Linked DNA regions of Homo sapiens: region 1 is linked to region 2. The links are contacts of gene promoters, found by promoter capture Hi-C in blood cells and fetal thymus (Javierre and others, 2016). All regions are on one chromosome and are shown on one strand. The core of a region is centred on a gene start or on the middle of the fragment in contact, and the rest is flanking DNA. Distances in the headings are between cores, read along the strand shown. Region 1 overlaps SLC37A1 (solute carrier family 37 member 1). Region 2 holds the start of TFF2 (trefoil factor 2).

Region 1 (4,816 bases), core at 583-3,082, 190 kb after region 2:
GAGCCGGTTCTCTCCTGGTTTTGCTGGATTTCCTACTCTCCCCTGATTCTGGAGTGACCCATGTCCCCATTCCTTCCTCCCGTCCTCCTGTCCTCCCTTGCCCCGGCATCAGGAGTTCATGCATGGGAGTCTTCCATCTTCCCACAGGCTGTTCCTTCTCATGCCCATCTTGCCACCACAGCCTGAATTGGACCCAGTCAGCTCTTTGCCTTCTGATAAGATATATCTTGGACAGTGTTATAAAAGACTGACTTAATATCTTAACTGGGTAAAAAGTATCTCTTGGAAAATCAAATCTCTTATTCCATTTCAGATTCAATAGCAAACTCTTTATTTAATTGAATTTGAAATTCATTTCTGAAGTAGAGATCCAGCAGGCTCTGGTGCTGAGAAGATTCAGGACAGTTACAGCAAGAATAGAGATGCCCGGGTGGCCCTGGCGGTCACACGACAGGGGCTCGAATCCCGCAAGCCATTCTGATAAGCTGTACTCAACTCTTAGTTCTTTGACTGAGTTTAAACCATATGGCAGGAGACAGCTCCCTCATGCTGCCTGCCAGGTAGGGACACTCAGAGCCAGCTCCCTCCAGCCACACTGGGCATTGCTGATCACTTCAGCTCTGCATGCAAAAGTTCATCCATATTCCATTTAGTCGCTCACTTTTTTTGTCTTGCAAAAGCTAACCTTTTAATTTTTAAGGTAACCATCATCTGGCCACACTGTGAGTTTGGAGACTCTCACCCCATGCTTCTGTGTTGGTGAAAATGGAAATAAACATTCAGATGAGGAATGTCCAGACACACCCATTGGTGTGAGCAAAAAGTGGGGGCCCCGGGCTGCACTCCGCTCCCCTTTCCCCGCTTCTGCAGAGGCTGAGTAAGCCTTCGGCCACACCCCAAACAGCCTGAGCAGGGGCCTCCTGGGATGGGTGGGGGTCTGGATCCCTCCCAGTGGGCCAGCATGTGGCTTTCAGCTCTGGCTGGTGTGTCACTGCAGTTCTGAGAAAGGCCATTTCCACCACCTGTTTTCTTCCGCTCTGGTTCCTAGAACCTGGAGTTCTGTGCCCCTGCGCTCCAAGTGTTTGAGACACCAGCCACCCGGAGAACAATGTGCCTCTCTTTGTTAGCGCACAGGGGCCCCTGGGTGTCTCCTGCCTGAGGGTAGAGTCCATGGGGTCTTCTGTTCTCTTCCTTAACTGGAAAGGGGCTGGCTCTGGGGAGAAAAGGACATGTGGAAGGGAAAGGAGCTTGCTCAATGGCCGGGACCTCAGCACCCGCTCCAGGCATTCACGGCCCTATGTTGATGTTTGTCTCTGTAAGCAGAGAGAGCTCAGCTCTTGTGAATAAGCCTCCCTGATCCAATTTGGGCAGATAGCAATGAGCCAGATGCCCCCTGTCCCTGGGTCCTCTGGCCACAGGCCCACTCACCTACAGGAAGGCTGCATGCTTCATCTCTAGCCAAACAAAACCAAACTACCAGAACCTCCTGCCCAGGGAATCTTTCTGACACTCTTTCCCCTTGTGCCTGGGAGGTGCACTGTGTCTGAATGATGAGACCCAGCTGTGACAACAGTGGCTGGATGCTGAGTCTGAGAACAGGAGCTCTTTGCAGATAGGGAGGAAACATCAAGTGCCCCTTGGTTTGTTTCTGCCCCTCCTTGTCCCGAATCACTGATCCTGGGCAGGTACTAAAGGCATCAGATGTGCCATTCTTGCGGTCAACAGAGGATGTGGCTTTCTCTGCTGCTCCTTCACTCTTGTCTCCTGCCCAGGGTGAGCCCCAAAGGACAGGGCGTCCCCTGCTCCTTTCTCAGGCCTCTCTGAGTCTCCTTTCTGAAGCTGTTCTCAAATGTGTCCCAGCCAAGGGACGTGTGTGCCCAAGTCCCTGAAGGTGAAAGTCCAGGAAGAGCCATATCAGGGGAAGCCCCTGGCTTACCCCTGGGGGCATCACACTGTGAGTGGATACCGATGGGGTGAGTTGGCTGATGTCCTTTAAATTGGTGACCATACATCACAGGTGGACCATTGGGACTGCCCAACATGCCGACCATGTGTCCTTGGTCAGTGGCCTCGCCCTATGGGCTGTGCCCAGGACAGGAGGGCGACGCACCCCACAGCCAGCCACGGACCTCTGGGTGCAGACCCACCTGGCCCTACGGCATGTTGATAATAACCTTATCAACAAAACCCAGACAAGAGGTTTGATGCTGGCCTCGAGGCCAGCAGGAGTGTGCTCGGCAGCTGCATGTCCCTCTATGATGTCACCCTGTGTTGTATGGGAATGGACTTGGCTGTGGGGAGCCTGCAGCCCTGTAGCTCAGTTTGGGTTGCAAGGCAGTAACCAGTTTCATCCAAGGTGATAAAGAGACCAAGGTGCTTGGTAGTCAGAGGGGGCTGCAGAGGTGGAGCGAGAAGCAGTAGGGCTGGTTTCCCGCAGCACCTAGAGGCCTGGGGTCTGACTCTGGGTTCCCGCATTGCTCGGGGCAGGTTGCTGGTGTCTGTAAAGGACACGCTGAAGCCTCACTTCTGGTTCTGTTCCTTTTCAAGTTTCCTCCCTTCCTTGCATTTACACAAAGATGTTTGTTCCATATCAAGATAGATGTTTTATCTCCACTCATTTTTATTTCTAATGAATTTCATAACATGAAATACCTCATTACAGACATTCTTCCAGCCTCGCTCCCCTGATGTGCTTTTCCTGGTTTTGCTTTTCTTCTGGGGCTTGTCCTCTGAATGAGAGTCGTGGGCTTGTCCACACAGCGTCCGCATGCTCTGCTTGTGATTATTGGCCACGCTGGGAAGTATTTTCCATATTTAAAGTAGCGTTCACGTTCACAGTGTTGGCACTGGCTGGCGGTGATCTGCCATACCCCCCTTGCACACAAGTGGGCTGCCAGGCCGAGTGACTGGGGACAGGCCGGGGCGTGTGCGGGAGTCACTGGTGGGACAGCCAAGCTGTGCCCTTGCCCTCACCTGGCATGCTATGGCGATGGCTTTTTTCTGAAACGAATGCCAATTTAGTAAAGGTATAAGATGGCATCTTGTGTTTTATTAAATTTTATTGTGTATATTTAAGGTATGCAACATGGTGTTACAGATACATAGAGATAGTAAAAAGGTTACTAGTAAAGCGAAGCAAGTTAACATAGCCATCGCAACTCACAGCTGCCCGCTTTTGTTTTTGTGGCAAGAGCAGCTCAAATCCACTCATTTAATGTGAATCCTGCATACAGTCCAGTTTCACACCCGGTGCTCCCGTGTTGCCCTGTCCTCGGGTTACGTAGCTTACTTGGCATTGCCATGGTGGTGGACCTGCTCAGCCTCACTCATGTTTGCTCTTTCAGATCCGAACGACGTCAGGTGCTCCTCCACCCTGGTGACGGTAAGGACCCTGTTTTCTTGTCCTTTTCTAGAACAGTGTGCGGTTCTGACCACTTCCCCAGCCTGCTCCTGCCTGTGCGGTGTCAGACAGAAACACACAGGGTAGACAGAAGTCCCACCCTCAAAACATTGGCAGTTCTAGGAATAGAGAATATTCTGTTTTGGGTTTCGCTGATAATAACCTTATCAGCAAAACCCAGACAAGAGGTTCAATGCTGTCCAGATGAAGGACTTCATGCTAAGGGGAACCAAAGGCTGGGCCCTGGCCAGGCCTCCTCAGGAGTGGAGACCTCCTGGTTTCCCCAGGGGCCTCAGTGTGACGGGGAAAAACGCACGTGTCAGCTGCCTGCCATCACTTAAGTTGGTGGCTGCACGTCTCAGGTGGCCGAGAGGTCTGCCCAGCACGCCATTCCTTCTCTTCTGTACCCCTGCCCAGCTCAGCCAGCGTAGGCCCTGCAGGCAGGATTGCTGACCACGTTGGCTGCCATGAATGAGCCCTGCCCTAGCTGCCTCCACCCGCAGCCAGTCACCACTGGCCACTTTCCCACCTGGCTAAGGCCAGCCCTCCCGCGGTACCGGTCCCCTCCCTCTCATGGCCCAGGGCTTGACTCCCGCAGACACACCCCCCGCCCCAAATACCATTCCTGGCACACTCATGTAGTATTGGTGGCTGTCTTGGAAGAAAGTCCCTCTGGCCCTCATGCCTGCTCCCAGCCGCCCCGCTCCCCATGTCCACTGGCATGACACCCCTCCTGTCTGCAGGCCACCGCCACCTCACGGGAACAGCCCATCAGATCCCAGCAACGTCACCCGGACACATAGGGTGGTCAGCTCTCTGGCCTCACCCTGCTGGGCCCGTCGCCCGCGTCTGACCCAATGCTTCCCTCCCTCTGGGGGTCAGCTCTCTTCCCTCCCTCTGGGAAAGGCTCCCCTACCCGGGCTAACATGTTAGTCACGTCTGTGCCGAGTGTCAGACCCCAGATGTGGGGGTGCCCCCAGGCTGCCCTGCGGCCTCCTCTCTCCTTGTCTGCCCGCTCACTGCAGGAGAGCGCGCTCGGGCCTTTCAGCGGCTCCAGGTGCGTTGATGTCGAGTCACCATGCTGTCCCCAGAGTGACCCACCCCTGAGCTCCGCAATCTGAGGTCTCACCACCACTCAACCTTCCCACGGAGATGTCTGAGTGTCCTTCAGACTTAACACGACTGGAGGAGATCTCTTGATTTTACCCCTGCACAAGCCGATCCCCCAGCATCCCCCATCTCAGTCAGGAAGCTGCTGTCCACCCTGTGGACAGGCCAGACCCGAGGAGCCAGCCCAACACCCCCTCCCTTCAGCCCCGCACCCCATCCTTGGCCATGTTCTGTCAGTTCTGCTCTGTTCTGTGAGGGGATGTGGAATGGAAACCCTCTCACCTCCTCCGCCTCTACCACCCTGGT
Region 2 (4,714 bases), core at 855-3,354:
GGGCTAGCCCTAGACTACCTCTAGACTAGCAGTCCTCTAGGCTACCTCTAGACTAGCAGTCCAGGCTAGTCCCAGACTAACCAACCTGGGCTAGCTCCAGACTAAACAACCTGGGCTAGCTCCAGACTAACAAACCTGGGCTAGCCCCAGACTAACCAACCTGGGCTACTAGCCTCAGACTAACCAACCTGGGCTAGCTCCAGACTAACCAACCTGGGCTAGCTCCGATTAACCAACCTGGGCTAGCCCTAGACTAACCAGCCTACGCTAGCCCTAGACTAACCAACCTGGGCTAGCTCCAGACTAACAAACCTAGGCTACTAGCCCCAGACTAACCAGCCTATGCTAGCCCTAGACTAACCAACTTGGGCTAGCTCCAGACTAACCAACCTAGGCTACTAGCCCCAGACTAATCAACCTGTGCTAGCTCCAAACTAACTAACCTGGGCTAGCCCTAGACTAACTAGCCTACACTAGCCCTAGACTAACCAACCTGGGCTAGCCCCAGACTAACCAACCTGGGCTACTAGCCCCAGACTAACCAACCTGGGCTAGCTCCAGACTAACCAACCTGGGCTAGCCCCAGACTAACCAGCCTACGCTAGCCCTAGACTAACCAACCTGGGCTAGCTCCAGGCTAACCAACCTGGGCTACTAGCCCCAGACTAACCAACCTGCGCTAGCTCCAAACTAACCAACCTGGGCTAGCCTTAGACTAACTAGCCTACACTAGCCCTAGACTAACCAACCTGGGCTAGCCCCAGACTAACCAACCTGGGCTAGCCCCAGACTAACCAACCTGGGCTAGCTCTAGACTAACCAACCTGGGCTAGCCCCAGACTAACCAACCGGGGCTAGCTCGAGACTAACCCACCCAGGCTAACCCTAGACTAGCAACTGGGCCTCCTCCGGCCCCTGCTCTGGGCTCCGCCTGTGAAGCTGGGTCCTGGGTTGCCAGCTGCTGGCCCAGGAAGATTCCCTGGAAGATTACCTTGCTTTGGGAGGGGGTGGAAACACCAGGGGACCCCAGTGACACTGGAGTCGAAACAGCATCCATTGTCAAAACACTGGTCACTGGTGATTCCAGGGAAGCCGCAGTTCGTCCTGTTATGGGGGCTCAGCCTGGAGCACTGGCAGGGGGCTGTGGAAAGACCCTCAGTCGGCCCCACCCTGGTACCCCAGACCACACTGCTCCTTCTCTCAGAGGTTCTAGGGGATGCCTCTACTGTCTTGTTGCCACATAGAGAAACACAAAGTCTTATCTTGCCCATATTTAAGCAATGCGGTTTCCTCCTGAGAAGCCGATAGGGCTTTGCTGAAATTGTTATATTAGTTTAAAAGGAAAAAAAAAAAAAAGCCAGGCATGGTGGCTCATACCTATAATCCCAGCACTTTAGGAAGCCGAGGCGGGCAGATTGCTTGAGCTCAGGAGTTCAAGACCATCCTGGGCAACATGTCGAAACCCCATCTCTACAAACAATACAAAAAAAAAAATTGGCCGGGCATGATGGTCCACAACTGTGGTTTCAGCTACTCAGGCGGCTGAGGTGGGAGGATCACTTGAGCCTGGGAGGCAGAGGTTGCAGTGAGCCAAGATCACACCACTGCACTCCTGCCTGGGCGGCAAAGCCAGATCCTGTCTCGGAAAAAAACAAAAACAAAACCCTCCTAGAGGAGGGTGAACAGATGGACCCAAGGCCAAGATCCAGGCGAGAGGTGAGTGCTCTGGGACTCCAAGGACCCTTGGTGGGAATGCCCTCCTGGCCCGACACGGGGCCCGCTGACACCTGCCGTCACTCAGCCTTTCCCTAGGAGGGAGGCCCTTCTTGGAGCCACCCTCCTGAGCAGTGGCAAATCCCATGTGAACAACACACATTGCCAGATGCCTTTATAGCCATTCCCCCTCTCAAGTTAATTTATGGTTGTGCTTTTTTTTTTTCTTTAAGAGAAATAAAGAAAGCACATAAAAAGACCCTCTCCTTCACTTACAGGGTTTCTCACTCCCCGCCAGGGCACATAGCCCCAGGACGAGGAGCGCTGCCAGGAGCTGGGCGTCTCGCCGTCCCATGTCTAGCTCAGCTGCACCCCAGGGTGGCTTGCAGAATGCATGGTGTCCACTGCCGGGTATGTTTTATAATCTCCCCTCTGTTTGTCCAACAAGCAGAGATAACCTTTCTTCTCTGCCCCGTGGCCCCAGCCCTTCCACCGTGGAGGCGAAGAGGAGGCAAGAGGCAGCTGTGCCCTGTGCAGGCGAGGCTTCCGGGCCAGGGTGACTCTCTCCCTGCTCGGTGATACCTCTTCCTGCCCTGGACAGAGAGTTGGGTCATGCCAGGCTGCCAGCGTGGAAAACCGGCCACGTGCAGGTCTGGGGCTGGGCACACACAGGGTCACACCCAGGAAGGGATAAGCTATGCATTTCTATTGATAGAGTGGGCAGGGACCACAGGAATTTAGAAAATATTAGGGCCAAGTTTACTGGGGAAAATGTACAGGCCAGCAGATAGCATGGAAAAGTCCCCTCCCTGAGGAAGGGAAGCATCTCAGAGGAGGTAAGAGACTGCTCCCAGGGCTGTGGTTAGAGCCTCCCCAACCGCAGCACGATGCCCTTTGTCCCATCTTCAGCAGGAGGGGCTGCTCTCCATGGAGATGAGGCTGACAGGGTCAGCGGAGTAGCCTGTGACAGGCAGGTTTTAATAAGTTCATTTTCAGCCAACCCCTGAAATGGGTTATTTTTGTTCCATGGGAATGCTCTACATCTTCTGAAAGATGGCACCTGGGACCCAGCCCATGGCCTTCCTGGGGTAGGATGTGCTGGAGAAGGATTCTGTGGACCTGACAGAGAAGACAGAAGCCAGAGAGTAGACACCCGGAAAGAAAGAGGGAAAAGTGTGGTGGGAAGGACAGAGGGGACCCGAAGTTCCCCACGCCAGGGAAATGACAGGGGGTTGCCAGTCTGTTTCTGATGGTTGAGCAGTCAGGGGCCCAGAGACGCAGGAAACCCAAAATCCTTGGTCCACCACGGGGCTGTCCTCAGGGTCTGGAGAGCAGGCCCCATACTCCAGGCCCCCATCCTCCAGGCCCTCGTCCCCCAGGCTCCATCCTCCAGGCCCCCATTCTCCAGGGCTCCATCCTCTAGGCCCCTGTCCTCCAGGCCCCCATCCTCTAGGCCCTCATCCTCCAGGCTCCATCCTCCAGGCTCCATCCTCCAGGTTTCATCCTTCAGGCCATCATCCTCCAGGCCCCCGTCCTCCAGGCCCCCATCCTCCAGGCCCCATCCTCCAGGCCCCCATCTTTCAGGCCCCTGTCCTCCAGGCTCTTGTCCTCCAGGCCCTCATCCTCCAGGCCCCTGCTCCTCCAGACCCTCATCCTCCAGACCCTCATCCTCCAGGCCCCCATCTTTCAGGCCCCTGTCCTCCAGGCCCTCTTCCTCCAGACCCTCGTCCTCCAGGCCCCTGTTCCTCCAGACCCTCGTCCTCCAGACCCTCATTCTCCAGGCCCCCGTCCTCCAGGCTCCATCCTCCAGGGCTCCTCTGGGTCCGGGTCAAGTACCTCCAGGCTCTCTGCTGACTGTTCACCACTGGGCAACCACAGGGACTCGATCCATGAAAACTCTGGCAAGGTCAGTTTCCTTGTTCTACATCCCTGTCACTTTAGTCACCATCATGATATAAGTGACTGAGTCATTGTTTTCTCTCATATTCCCACCCACCTCTCCTCTCTGCTTCCTCCCCATCAACTCGACTTCCCACCGCTCACTGCAGCCCCTTCAGGATTCCTGCTGCGACCACCTGACCCATGCAAAAGAGACCACTTCTCAGCCTCTCTCACTCTCCTGGCCCTGGCGGAAGCCTGTGTTGTCATAGGCATGCTTCCCTGGAATCCTGCTCAGGCCCCCACGCAGGGACACTGAGTGCCCACAGAGTTGGGAAACCATTACACGAGATGGGACGTCTGCAATAGAGTGGCATCGCTAGTTGAAAGTGGAGCTGTTCACAACCTCCACAACTGTACTTGGTGGCCACGTCCCCATCACATGGGCTCAGACTGGGGGCTGGACATTGACTTTGAGCCCCAAGTCTTCACCCTCATGCAAAAACCATCCTCCTTGGAGATGCAGGCTGGGAAGGGCGCCATGTCCGGAGTCCCTGCCCTGCTGTCATCTGCCGACCTTTGTGCAGCCTGTCCCTTTCGTTAAGAATTTCAGCACTGAGTTCACTGTGTTCCTTGTCATGCTAAGACTTGGCCACATCCCAGCCATCTTCAACATGGCGGTCGATGTTTCATCAAAATTCACAGTCGCTCAGATTTTATTTTTCCTCATCTCTAGGAACTTCCATCTCCACTCCACTTCTGCCACTTCTGCCACCCTCCCATGACCACACTCAGAACTTGAGCTCCACCTCTGAAAGAGGGTATGCAAATGTCCTTTCTGCCCAGGATGTCCTAAGCTCCTAACATTCTCCCTTTGTCTGAATCCTAAAGCCCTCCAATCCCCTATTCCCCTGTGAGCCCCCTCCTGTCTATCCTTCCTTCCTGCTTCTCCAGCCTGATTTCCACAGTGCTCACTTCACCCACCGTCTTCCTCACTGCTGTTTCCCACTGTCTCTGTGCCTATGCCATCTGCCTAGCATGGCCGACACCTACCTTGAATTGTTGCCACTCTCAACGCATGATCTCAGCGCCATCCAGGCACTCAGGGCTGGCGCCCTCCTCT

Evidence for each region. The method cuts DNA at HindIII sites, captures the fragments that hold promoters and counts their contacts. A CHiCAGO score of 5 or more calls a contact.
Region 1: a fragment that was not itself captured here is called in contact with the fragment with the promoter of TFF2 in region 2 in 1 of 17 cell types (total CD8 T cells); the score reaches 6.9 in total CD8 T cells.

The regions. Positions count from the first base shown.
Region 1 is chr21:42,543,759-42,548,574 of GRCh38, forward strand. It overlaps SLC37A1 (solute carrier family 37 member 1), which reads left to right. Exons shown (of 20, transcript NM_001320537.2): 9 at 3,345-3,382. Among named protein-coding and RNA genes, the nearest start is that of SLC37A1, 32 kb to the left of the region's middle. RefSeq lists enhancers at 1,499-2,036, 2,037-2,572 and a silencer at 1,523-1,746. The HindIII fragment of the contact is 7,023 bases long and covers 1-4,816 here.
Region 2 is chr21:42,348,890-42,353,603 of GRCh38, forward strand. TFF2 (trefoil factor 2) reads right to left here and starts at 2,105. Exons shown (of 4, transcript NM_005423.5): 1 at 1,990-2,105; 2 at 992-1,141. The coding sequence starts at 2,068. LOC105372815 (a long non-coding RNA gene) reads left to right here and starts at 3,404. Exons shown (of 3, transcript XR_937755.3): 1 at 3,404-4,412. The HindIII fragment of the contact is 5,593 bases long and covers 1-4,714 here.